Linked DNA regions of Homo sapiens: all the other regions are linked to region 4. Evidence: promoter capture Hi-C in 16 types of primary human blood cells and fetal thymus (Javierre and others, 2016). All regions are on one chromosome and are shown on one strand. Each heading gives the region's core, a stretch centred on a gene start or on the middle of the fragment in contact. The rest is flanking DNA. Distances are from core to core; before and after follow the strand shown.

The links. Contacts are between HindIII fragments. The CHiCAGO score rates a contact against its expected background, and 5 or more counts as called.
Region 1: a contact is called between a fragment that was not itself captured here and the fragment with the promoter of SIDT2 in region 4, in 1 of 17 cell types (neutrophils). The highest score is 5.6, in neutrophils.
Region 2: a contact is called between a fragment that was not itself captured here and the fragment with the promoter of SIDT2 in region 4, in 1 of 17 cell types (neutrophils). The highest score is 5.3, in neutrophils.
Region 3: a fragment that was not itself captured here is called in contact with the fragment with the promoter of SIDT2 in region 4 in 3 of 17 cell types (total CD8 T cells, naive B cells and naive CD8 T cells); the score reaches 5.8 in total CD8 T cells.

What each region holds. Positions count from the first base shown.
Region 1 is chr11:116,804,273-116,806,972 of GRCh38, forward strand. No RefSeq gene overlaps it. Among named protein-coding and RNA genes, the nearest start is that of LNC-RHL1, 8.6 kb to the right of the region's middle. The HindIII fragment of the contact is 3,075 bases long and covers 1-2,700 here.
Region 2 is chr11:116,727,067-116,729,873 of GRCh38, forward strand. No RefSeq gene overlaps it. Among named protein-coding and RNA genes, the nearest start is that of BUD13, 45 kb to the right of the region's middle. The HindIII fragment of the contact is 1,120 bases long and covers 727-1,846 here.
Region 3 is chr11:116,888,347-116,891,144 of GRCh38, forward strand. All of the region lies in intron 6 of SIK3 (SIK family kinase 3), which reads right to left. Among named protein-coding and RNA genes, the nearest start is that of APOA1, 52 kb to the left of the region's middle. RefSeq lists an enhancer at 2,222-2,281. The HindIII fragment of the contact is 1,817 bases long and covers 458-2,274 here.
Region 4 is chr11:117,177,311-117,180,010 of GRCh38, forward strand. SIDT2 (SID1 transmembrane family member 2) reads left to right here and starts at 1,433. Exons shown (of 26, transcript NM_001040455.2): 1 at 1,433-2,136. The coding sequence starts at 1,954. It also overlaps a transcript of PAFAH1B2 not described here. RefSeq lists a silencer at 1,532-1,741. The HindIII fragment of the contact is 6,932 bases long and covers 1,288-2,700 here.

The DNA.
Region 1 (2,700 bases), core at 105-2,604, 370 kb before region 4:
AGTCTGTTTGAGAAGCAGCTGTTCTCTTCAACTCTACTTGGCTGGGTACCCCCAAAGCAGCAGAAAACCAGATGCTTATTCTCTCTGAAAAGGGTAAAAGAGTGGGACTCCGGCCTGGAGAAAACTAGGTATTGTTGGGGGCCAGGGTTTTTGTGCTAAGAAAAATTAAGGAAAACTTTATACATTAAATTTTGAGGCTGGGCACAGTGGCTCATGCCTGTAATCCCAACACTTTGAGAAGGCAAGGCAGGAGGATCGCTTGAGCCCAGGAGTTCGATACCAGCCTGGGCAATGTAGCGAGACCCAGTCTCTGCAAAGAATACAAAAATTAGCCAGGTATGGTGGCACCTGTGGTCCTAGCTACTCAGGAGGCTGAGGCAGAAGGATTACTTGAGCCCACGAGTTAGAGACCGCAGTGAGCCATGATCATGCTACTGCTCTCTAGCCTGGGCGACAGAATGAGACCCCATCTCAAAAATAAATTTTTTTAAAAGACTCCTCAGTTCACCATCTTTCCCCATATTGAAAATGGAACAACATTCTCCCTGAGAAATTTGGCTGGCCCAAGGAAATAGGCCTAAAGAAACTGACTTTTGGGGGTTCCCTGCTCTCCAGATGGTCCCTCCTAAATTGAACCATGGACTCAGGATTTCACATCAGCTTCTTCTAATTTATGCAGCTTTCTTCTAATTTACTGTGGGGTTTTTTCGGTGTTTTTTGTTTTGTTTTGTTTTTTGAGACAGGGTCTTGCTCTGTCATCCAGCTGGAGTGCAGTGGTGTGATCATAGCTCACTGCAGCCTCAAACTCCTGGGCTCAAGTGATCCTCCCACCTCAGCCTCCTAAGTAGCTGGGGCTACAGGCATGACCACCACACCTGGCTAACTTTTTAATTTTTTGTAGAGGTGGGGGTCTTGACATGTTGCTCAGGCTGGTCTTGAAATCCTGGCCTCAAGCGATCCCCCTGCCTCAGCCTCCCAAAGTGCTGGGATTTCAAGCATGTGCCACTGTGCCTGGCTAAGAATACTTAAAGGTGAAGTGAGAAGTTCACATGATGTCATATCAGGAGGTACACAATGGCTACTTGTCCCACTAATAGCAATCCTTAGTTTTTTCACTTCGTGAGGTGGTCACTAGCAGACCTCTTGGTTGGAAAGATAGGTTATTTCCCTTTGTAATTAACAAGTAACAGAATTGGGATACTTTGGCATCTTAAAATACCTTGGCAACCTGATGAACATAGCATACATTCAAGATTTTTGCCTGAATTAATTATTACATTAGAAGAGTTGCAGAATGAGAATGTTCTAATTCTACTATTTCTTTTATATATTTCAGCTGATGTTATTCTATGAAGAAAAGCTCCCTCATCAGTGAAGATGAACTGCACTTCTTTCTAAAGAGGCAATGTCAGACGGGCACGGTGGCCTATAATCCTAGCACTTTGGGAGGCCGAGGAGGGTGGATCACCTGAGGTCAGGAGTTCGAGACCAACCTGGCCAACATGGTAAAACCCTGTCTCTACTTAAAATACAAAAATTAGCCGGGCATGGTGGCACATGCCTGTAATCCTAGCTACATGGGAGGCTGAGGCAGAAGAATCGCTTGAACCTGAGAGGCAGAGGTTGCAGTGAGCTAAGATTGTACCACTGCACTCCAGGCTGGGTGACAGAGTGAGACTCTGTCTCAAAAAAAAACAAAACAAAACGAAACAAAAAAACAGTTGACAGTAGTTGTTTTTGTAGAGTGAAAAATAGAGGTGGGGGTTGAGATACTGCTGCTATTTTAAACTAACTTGTAGATCTGTTTGACTCTTTTTTAAAAAACAATTTTTTGGAGAGATGAAGCCTTGCTATGTAGCCCGGGCTGCTCTCAAACCCCTGGCCTCAAGTGATCCCCCTGTCTCGACCTCCCAAAGTGCTGGGGTTACAGACATAAGTCACCACACCTGGCTCTGTTTGACTCTTTATGTGCAGTTTGAACTTTTTAACTGAATTTTTTAAAAGGTGTGAAATTAGTCTTTAAAGGAACACAAAACCAACAGAGAAGCAAGCAGGAAGATACAAGAAGCAAAGAAATATCATAGTAAAATGAAAATACAAAATAATATGACATAAATAAAACAGTAATCACTATCAAATTAAATAGATTAAGTGAGCCCACAAGGCATTGTCTCTGGGACTAGTCCGCTGGGTCGAAGTCCTGCCACTTATTGGTTCTGTGACCTTTGGCAAATTAACTTCTCTGTGATTCCATTTCTTTCTTTTGTTTTCTTTCTTTCGTTTTTTTTTTTGAGACAGAGTCTCACTCTGTCACTCAGGCTGGGTGCAGTGGTGCAATCACCAATCACAACTTACTGCAGCCTCCACCTCCTGGGCCCACGCGATCCTCTCACCTCAGTCTCCTGAGTCCCTGGGAACACAGACATGTGCCACCCTGCCAAGCTAATTTTTAAATTTTTTGTAGCGATTGGGTCTCACTATATTGCCTAGGCTGGTCTCAGACTCCTGAGCTCAAGTGATCCTCCCGCCTTGGCCTCCCAAAGTGCTGGGATTACAGGCATGAGCCACTGCACCCAGCCTCAAACTCTGTAAAAGGGGAATAATGATAATACTTGCCTCATAGGGCTTGTGGGAAATAATGCTTTATTACTGTAGGTTAAAAAGCACACAAACATGCTTGACACAGTAGGTGCTACATCA
Region 2 (2,807 bases), core at 37-2,536, 450 kb before region 4:
CTAGGGCACTGTGAGAACTGCAGAGGGCATAATGGAGACACTGGGGACCACTAGGGACTCCTGGTGGGGTCTTCATGGGTCCCACCAAGTGCTGCACTCTGGGCTGTTTACTCTTAATGAGGGGCACAGGTGGGTGGGGGTGCAGCCCTCCCGGGGGAGCCAGAGGCAGGCCCACACTGCCCTGGAAGAAAGAGCCACTGCCCTTCAACTGTTCGGCAACCACAAATGTGTGCTTCCCAGGGGTGGCGGCAGCCTCAGAGGAATGGGAAGCTGGTTTAGAAAGTCGCTCTGAGGAGGGAAGCAGTTCCACCTTACTGCTAGGAGCCCTGCCTGGCATCAGTCCCCTCAAACTCAGACCCCAGGCCTTATCTCCACCCCCGAGGTGAGGGGACAGCCTGAAGTAGTGCGATTCAGGGGTCTCAGCAACAACACACCGCCCTCCGAGTAGCCTCAGAGCGTGGGCACTGGGGAGGGGTCTAGAAAGGATTTACAGCCAGTATCTGCCTGTTAGGACTCAGCAGAGAAGAGCCTTCTTCCCCATGGCACAGAATAGAGGTAGCAACAACCCAAGTCCAATGCCATAGGGTCAAATGTGGGTTCTTCCAACCTGCCCAGAGCCTGTGGGAATGAATGTAGACACAGCTGAATAACTGAGAAGTGCATCTCAGAAAGTCCGCAAGCAGGCGCCCGCTAACCAAAATGTTGAAAGGTAGAAGGTCAGGGTCAAGCTTCAGGATAGGGTCAAGCCTCCTTTCAAAAGATCTAGGTATGGTCAGAGTGAGAAATAAAACAGGCAAGGCAGATGAAGCGCCAAATTCAGCATGTTCAATATCAAATATTCAATAGCAGATATTCAATTCCCACTCCGTCCCAGGCAACTAAACCCAGGGTGGTCATTCCCAGGATTCCCAAAGCAACACCATCATCATCTCTCCTTCTTCCCTAGATCCCTCTTCTCAAAGAAGAGCATTGCTCCATGCCAGAAACCCAGGTGTCACCCAAGACGCCCCCTCGGTCACCCTCACAGTCACTGAGATGCTGCATCCTGCCTTTTCTGACTCATGACAAAGCTCTCTCCTCTTCCCGTGACTCTTGAGCCACACCTGATGGCTGCAGTTCATCGTCTTTCATACAGACAGCAGCAGCTGCCTCTGGGTGGGGACCCTGCCTCCAGCCTTGCCCATCTCCACACTGCTGCCAAAACGATCTTTCTAAAACACAGTGTTAGTCCTGCCTGCCACCCCAACAAAGTCCTTTCTTACCTGCTCAGAGCCCACAAAATCGTATTGAAATTCCAGGGAACAAAAGGCCTCCAACTCTACCACTCCCCAGTGCAACCTGTCCTCCTGCCATCCCAAATCCCTTGCCAGTCTCCACACTTCTATTCTCCTCCCTCCTCCGGGCCTCTGCGCGTGCTGTTCCTTTATCTGCCTCCCAACAGGGCTCGCGTTCCTTGAGACCATCTGCAGCTTTGCATCCCCAGCACTTGACGCGTAGAAGTGAAGTCTTGATGGAATAAATGAACTGATGAAGATGGGAAAGTGAAAGATTCCATGAGATTGTAGCATTTTCCCAGTTATAACAATGAGGAAACAGAGAGGTGATATAGCTTGTCCAAGGTAAACACAGAATCAGTACCATACCCCATCACCCTTTGCTGCCTCAGCAGAGCCCCAGAGAAACCAAAACAAAAGAAAAACAGAATAAGAACCCAGGAGGGGTTCAGGGTAGCATAGGGCAGGAGTCAGGAGCGGGCAAAGAGAGGAGATGGAGAAGGGAGTTTGTTGAAGGTTGGCAGCTATGGCTAAACAGTTCACAGTGAAGGGAGAGCCTTCAGAGTCCAGGAAGCTTTAGCCAGAAGTCAGAGGGGTGGACTTGCAGTCCCAATAGGAAAGAACTTTCCTCCTCCAGGAATCAGAAAGGGACTAGAGAAACCCAGGAACCAGAGTGAAGACATGAGGCTGGCAGAGAGGGGGTGGGAAGAGGGGCACTAGTGGCTGTGGTGACAAGGCTGTGTGCAGGTTATTAACCCTGGGATAACTGCGTGAGTCCTGAAACAGAAATAAACCTTTCTCACCTCCAAACCCTCACCAGGAAAAAAAAATTAATTTTACACCACAGTCTCAGGAAGAGAAATTTAGGGACACACAGGCTGGGCCTTTGGCCTGTGAAAACCTCAGCTTCTTAGCCCCGTTAGGAAAATCTGGGCTCTTAGAGAGAAGGTAAAGACTTGGATAATGCTATTCTCTCTATTTCTCACCTCCAACCCTCTTTTCTGAGTCCTCTACATCTTTCAAAGGCCAGATTCCCACCTTGGCCCTGTCCAGAAGCCTTCCCAACTGCCAGAATTTCCAGCATCCACTGTTCCTCTGAAGAGCAAAAGCTCTTCACCAGGCTCTTCACCTCCCAGCTTATTCTGTGGTCTTCTCTGGACAAGGAAGACCATCTCCCTAAGGTCCATGGTGACTGGGGGTGGAGCAGGGAGATGGATTTCCCATCATCAGCCACCTTTCCTTGAGCCTAGACCCAGTCCCATCCCCTCCTGCTCAGAGTTCAGGGCTCGGGGACTGGCAGGGGGAAGCTGTACTGTGGCTGGCTGGTATGTTTTGTCAAGAACATATCAGCTGCTTCCCTATTTGGGCAGGAGGAATCCAGGAGGGCTGCATGCCCTGGAAAGCACCTGGTGCTGCTGGGCCCAAAGAACTCGGCCTCCTCTGTCCCCTGCCTTGCAGCAGCCATGCCCACCCAAGCCAAAGTGACTCCTAAGCATTCCCTGCTGCGGGGCGCTTGGATGCAGGTTGAACATG
Region 3 (2,798 bases), core at 116-2,615, 290 kb before region 4:
AGCCAGCACTCGCCTCCATCAGAAGACTATGCTCCAGGTCTACTGAGATACAACTGTGCCCAGAAACACGAGGCGTAAGCAGAAAAAGGACTCTGGGACAGACTCTAAACTTCCTTCACCTGACACTTTCTGGTACTTGAAGGTTGTCTAAGCTAAGAAAAGCCTAAATAACCGATGAATTCATTTTCTGCTATGCCTTATCCTTTTGAAGTATTCTCTAATGGGCCTTGGGATTTAGGCCTATGACATTCAGCAATGCCAAGCACATGTATATTACCAAGGGCCAGAGAGATCATATTGGTAATATAGCAAGTATCTACTGACTTCCTACCCTGGTTGTTTCTCATTCTCTGTACTAATCATACAAAAACTTGTATTGCTACTTAGGGAATTATTTAACTGGGATTAAAGAGCGACTACGTTTAGGATAATCCTGTTGGCTTTCTCTGAGTCTTGAAGCTTTCAGGTTAACTAACATCATATTACAAATAATAGTTCTAAGCAGTTAGACTGTTAGTTTATTTCTAAGCACTAATAGACAGTGTGGCTGACAGCATGCTTAGCTGTTTTCTAGGACCCCCTATCTGAAGCCGGCTCCGGGAAGGGTTCAGTAAGAATCTCTTGCCATGGTGTGAGGTGATGGGGGTGGAGGATAGAAAAGATCCAAGTTGCTCACAGGAAACACTGTGGACATTGGAAAAGTAAAGGAAGTGGTTTATCTTGCTCTTTTTGCAACAGTATGGTGTAGTAAAACAAACACTAAATTTGAATACTGACCTAGTTACTTATTACCTGTGTGGCTTTGGCAAGTTAACTCATTTCTCTAAACTTCAGCTTCCAAAACTTCATCAGCAAGATGATAAAATATGTGCTATTACCTATTCTAAAATATAGTTATGTAGCTCAAATTAGATTAAGTAAAAGAAAATAATTTAGGTTGCGTATGCTGGCTTCTGCCCATAATCCCAGCACTCTGGGAGGCCAAGGTGGGAGGATTGCTTGAGGCCAAGAGTTCAAGACCAGACTGGGCAATGTAGTGAGACTCATCTCTACAAAAAATCTTTTAAAAAATTAGCTTGGAATGGTGGCACAGGCCTATAGTCCTAGCTACTTTGGAGCCTGAGGTAGGAGGGTTGTTTGAACCCAGGAGTTTGAGGCTACAGTGAGCTATGGTCATACCACTAGGCTCTAGCTTAGGTGACAGAGCAAGACCCTGTCGCCAAAAATATAAAAACTGAAAAATTGAAATATTTTTAAAAAATATATTGGCTGGGTGCAGTGGCTCACACCTGTAATCCCAAAACTTTGGGAGGCCGTGGTGGGCGGACTGCTTGAGTCCAGGAGTTCAAGACCAGCCTGGGCAACATAATAAGATCCCATCTCTACAAAAAAATACAAAAATTAGGTGGGCGTGGTGGCGTGCGCCTGTAGACCAAGCTACTCAGGAGGCTGAGGTGGGAGGATGGCTTGGGCCCAGGAGGCGGAGGCTGCAGTGAGCCAAGATCACGCCACTGCACTCCAGCCTGGGCGACAGAGATCCTGTCTCAAAAAATAAACCTATTAAAAAAGAAATTATTTTATAAACTCAAAAGCCCTAAACAAATGTAATTATTTGATATTACTACTGATATTATGATTTGGATAAGACTACTCTCCAGAGGGGCTTTTGGAGTCAGTGTTCGAACAACCCTATGCATTAATTCATTCAACAAATATTTACTGAGTGCCTACTAGAACTCAGGCACCGTCCAAAGCCCTGGGAACATAACAGTAAACAAAAACCAAATGCTTATTATGGTCAAGTGGTGATAGGAGGTGAGGAGACAATAAAGTAAGTGCTATGAAGAAAAAGCAGAATTACAGAAAGAGAATGATGGGGGTAGCCAGGACAGGCCTCTCTGAGGGGACCTATGACTCCTCTCTGAGGGGAATGTATGTGTTTGGCAAGTCTGAGAAACAGCAAGGAAGGCCCTGTGACTGGAGCTCAGAACCGGAGGTGAACAGTAACAGGAAATGAGACCAAAGAAGGGGCAATGACAGCTGTGCCTTGTAGGCCATAGTAATAATGACTCCTTGAATTTTATTCTGAATGTAAACAAATGCCACTGGGGATGGGGTGGTTCTGATTCAGATTTCATATTTACTAAGTCCTACTACACACCAGATCCTGTGGTAGGTTATTGACAGTTGTGAAAAAGACATGTTTCGTCTGTACTTTCACTAAGTTCAGTCTGGTGTGGAAGACATACAATGAAAGAAGTAGTTACAATATAAAGCTTGGTAAGCACCACGATAAGAGAAAGTTTAGAGACATGAAGAGTGAATAGAAATTATCTAGATTCTTATTTCTATCCAATCTAATTTTTTTTATTCTGAATTCTAGAATACAGGAGTGGGTGGAGTGGGGTGGGATAGGGAAGATGTATTCTCGGCAGTGGGAAATGCTCCAGAAAACAGAACTTGTTCAGGGAACGAGAAGAAAATTAGGGTGACTGGTGGGAGAGTGGGAGCTGGGGCTGAAGAGCTAGGCAGGAGTCAGGTTATAAAGGTATTTCTATGTCATTGTTTCTGAAATAGCAGATAGGAGATCAATTTAGTAAGTCGAAATCAGCATTTTTTAAAATGGAATAGAATAAAATATATTGAAATGCACTGTACATAGTAAGGTAAGTTTTGCTTTTTTAAAAAAATTGTTTGCTGGCTGGGCGCAGTGGCTCATGGAGGTCAAGGAGGGAGGATCGCTTAAGGTTAGGAATTCAAGACCAGCTTGGTCAACAGAGAGAGAGTCCATCTCTATA
Region 4 (2,700 bases), core at 183-2,682:
ATCCATTATTTTTTATTTTTTGGTACTACTCTATATTTTTAGAATTAAAGGAAAATGATATACAATATGTGTTATTTTTAAAATTGTAATTCAAAGATAACTACTGCTAAATTTTATTTTTAAAATTTGCCCTGCTTTCTGGAGACATTGCTAAATGTTTAGTACAATTTTTTTCTATTTTTCTATGCATGTCTATATGCATTTGGAATATATACGGTTTTATTTACTTATTTATTTTTGAGACAGAGTCTTGCTCTGTTGCAGCCCAGGCTGGAGTGCAGGAGCATGATCTCAGCTCACTGCAACCTCCGCCTGGTAGAGTTAAGCGATTCTCCTGCTTCAGCCTCCCCAGTAGCTGGGATTACAGGCACGCGTCACCACGCCCCACTAATTTTGTATTTTTATAGTAGAGATGGGGTTCACCATGTTGGCCATGGCTGGTCTCGAACTCCTGACCTCAAGTGATCTACCTGTCTTGGCCTCCCAAAGTGTTGGGATTACACGTGTGAGCCACGGCACCTGGCTCTATATACTGTTTATTTAGTGTCATATCCTGAATTCTCTGCTTACGTGTCCTGTGAAGTCTTAAGCATCATTTTTGATGCCTTCATGATAGTGCATTTAACCAATCCCTCATTATGGATATCCAAGTCATTTCCTTTTTGCTTTATATTATAAATATCACAGTGATAAGCGTAGCTGCCCAGGTATTTTTATCTGTGCTTCCTATTTCCTTAGGATAGAGTCCAGAAGTGGAATTACTGGATCAAAGGGTATAAAGCTCTCTAAGTTTCTTGAAACAGTGCCAAAATATTTTGTAGAAAAGTTTTCACCAATTTACACTGAAGGTCAGTATCTTTCAATGAGTTTTGTAACTGTCTCTGAGAGAAGAGGGGAAACAGCCCGGCAAGCTTGGAAAGCTCGGAAGGCCGTCCCTGCAGTTGTGTGGCCCCTCTAGAGGGAGGTGGGAAAGGCATGGGGATTCCTCCTGCAGTGCTGCCTCCGTTTCCCCTCCGCCGGTAGGGCCACCGTCCTGTTTCCTAATCCTTCGAGTTTTTCATTTTTTAAGATCCCCGGAGAAAAAGTGGCCCAGGGTTGGACGATGTTAGTTGTAAAGGTGGTGGTGGGGGTGGGGGAATCCTTATGTTTGAGCAAATGTAAGAGTTGTTCAGCAAGAACCCAACACTTGGAGATTGTTAACAGAAACATCTGCCTATTCCAACGTGAGTTTCAGAGATGGTGAAAATCACGGGAGAGAGTTGGGTAGGAGTTGGAGAAGGCATTGCAAGCTTTCCCCTTCAGCTAGACAGCTGCAGCCCCTTTAAGGGCAAATGCGGGACCTGGTCCTTTAAATCTGTGTCAGTTTCCCCTGACGTCAGCGGGCGGGCCAGCAGCCCTGCTGTTTATCGCCCAGCGGCGCAGCTCACTTTTCAGTGTTCGTGCGTCGGGACGGCGCGTCCGCCCGCCCTTAAAGGGCCCGCACCTCGGAAAACTCGCAGCCCAGCACGGCGTCGGGTAGCTACCACCTATCACGCCCCTCACTCTGCGACTCGCCTTCCTCCGCGGCCAGCCCCCGCCGCCGGCTCTTCCTCCCTCCCCTTTCCCGGCGTCTCCAGGCTCCCGGCAACCAGCCGCCCTCCTTCTCACGGCCCTGGCCCGGGGCTCCAGGGTCTCAGGTCGTACTCAGCCCCTCGCGAGCTGGGACCCCTTCCCGTAGCCAGCATCCCCTCCCTCCCCGCCCCCTCCCGGCCGCCCCCTCCCCTGCGGGGACCCTGGGAGCCTCTTCGGGGCTCTTGGGAGGGGACATTTCCTAATCTCAGGCCGGGGTTAAAGTTCTGGTCCTGGTGAGATGCTGGAAGCTGCGGCCGCAGCCGCAACCCGTCCCGGAGGTGTCCTGTCTCCTGTCGCCGCCGCCGCCGCCACCACCGCTGCCACTGCCGCCCTGCCGGGGCCATGTTCGCTCTGGGCTTGCCCTTCTTGGTGCTCTTGGTGGCCTCGGTCGAGAGCCATCTGGGGGTTCTGGGGCCCAAGAACGTCTCGCAGAAAGACGCCGAGTTTGAGCGCACCTACGTGGACGAGGTCAACAGCGAGCTGGTCAACATCTACACCTTCAACCATACTGTGACCCGCAACAGGGTGAGGGCTGGGGGCTTAGGGGCCAGAGGCGAGTGGGGAAGCCGACGAGGGCTAGGCGATTCTGCCGCCCCGCTACCCTTTTGGGAGGCCCCAGGAACGAGCTGTCCTGCTAGGTTCCCAGTTCCCAGAACCACACTGGAGCCTCTTGACCAGTCCTCCTTCCTTTGCCACCAATGTTTCTCTGAAGCTCCAGCTGGGCAGTTTTTGAAGTTGGCTCATTCCCATCTTCTCTTCCGCCCCCATTCTTCCATCAGTTGTGGTCTGAGCACACATGGCTTGCTCTCTACCCTAAACCCCAGAATCTGACAGCTCTGTGGGGTCTCGGTGGGAGAGGAAACAGGCTTATTACTGGGCTTGCCCAGAAAACCTCAGGGGAATGAGACTGGCCCAGAACTGAAAAGCTCTGTGCAGGCAAGTTACATCTCAGACTCCCCAGGGAGATGAATGCAGGGCTTCCCAGCCCTCTTCCTGCCTGGGAGAGCCAGCTGGCCTTGTAAATTGAGGGTGACAGAGGTTTTATAAGGCCAACTGCAAGTTGGGTGGGAAGAGAAGGGGAATTTGTCC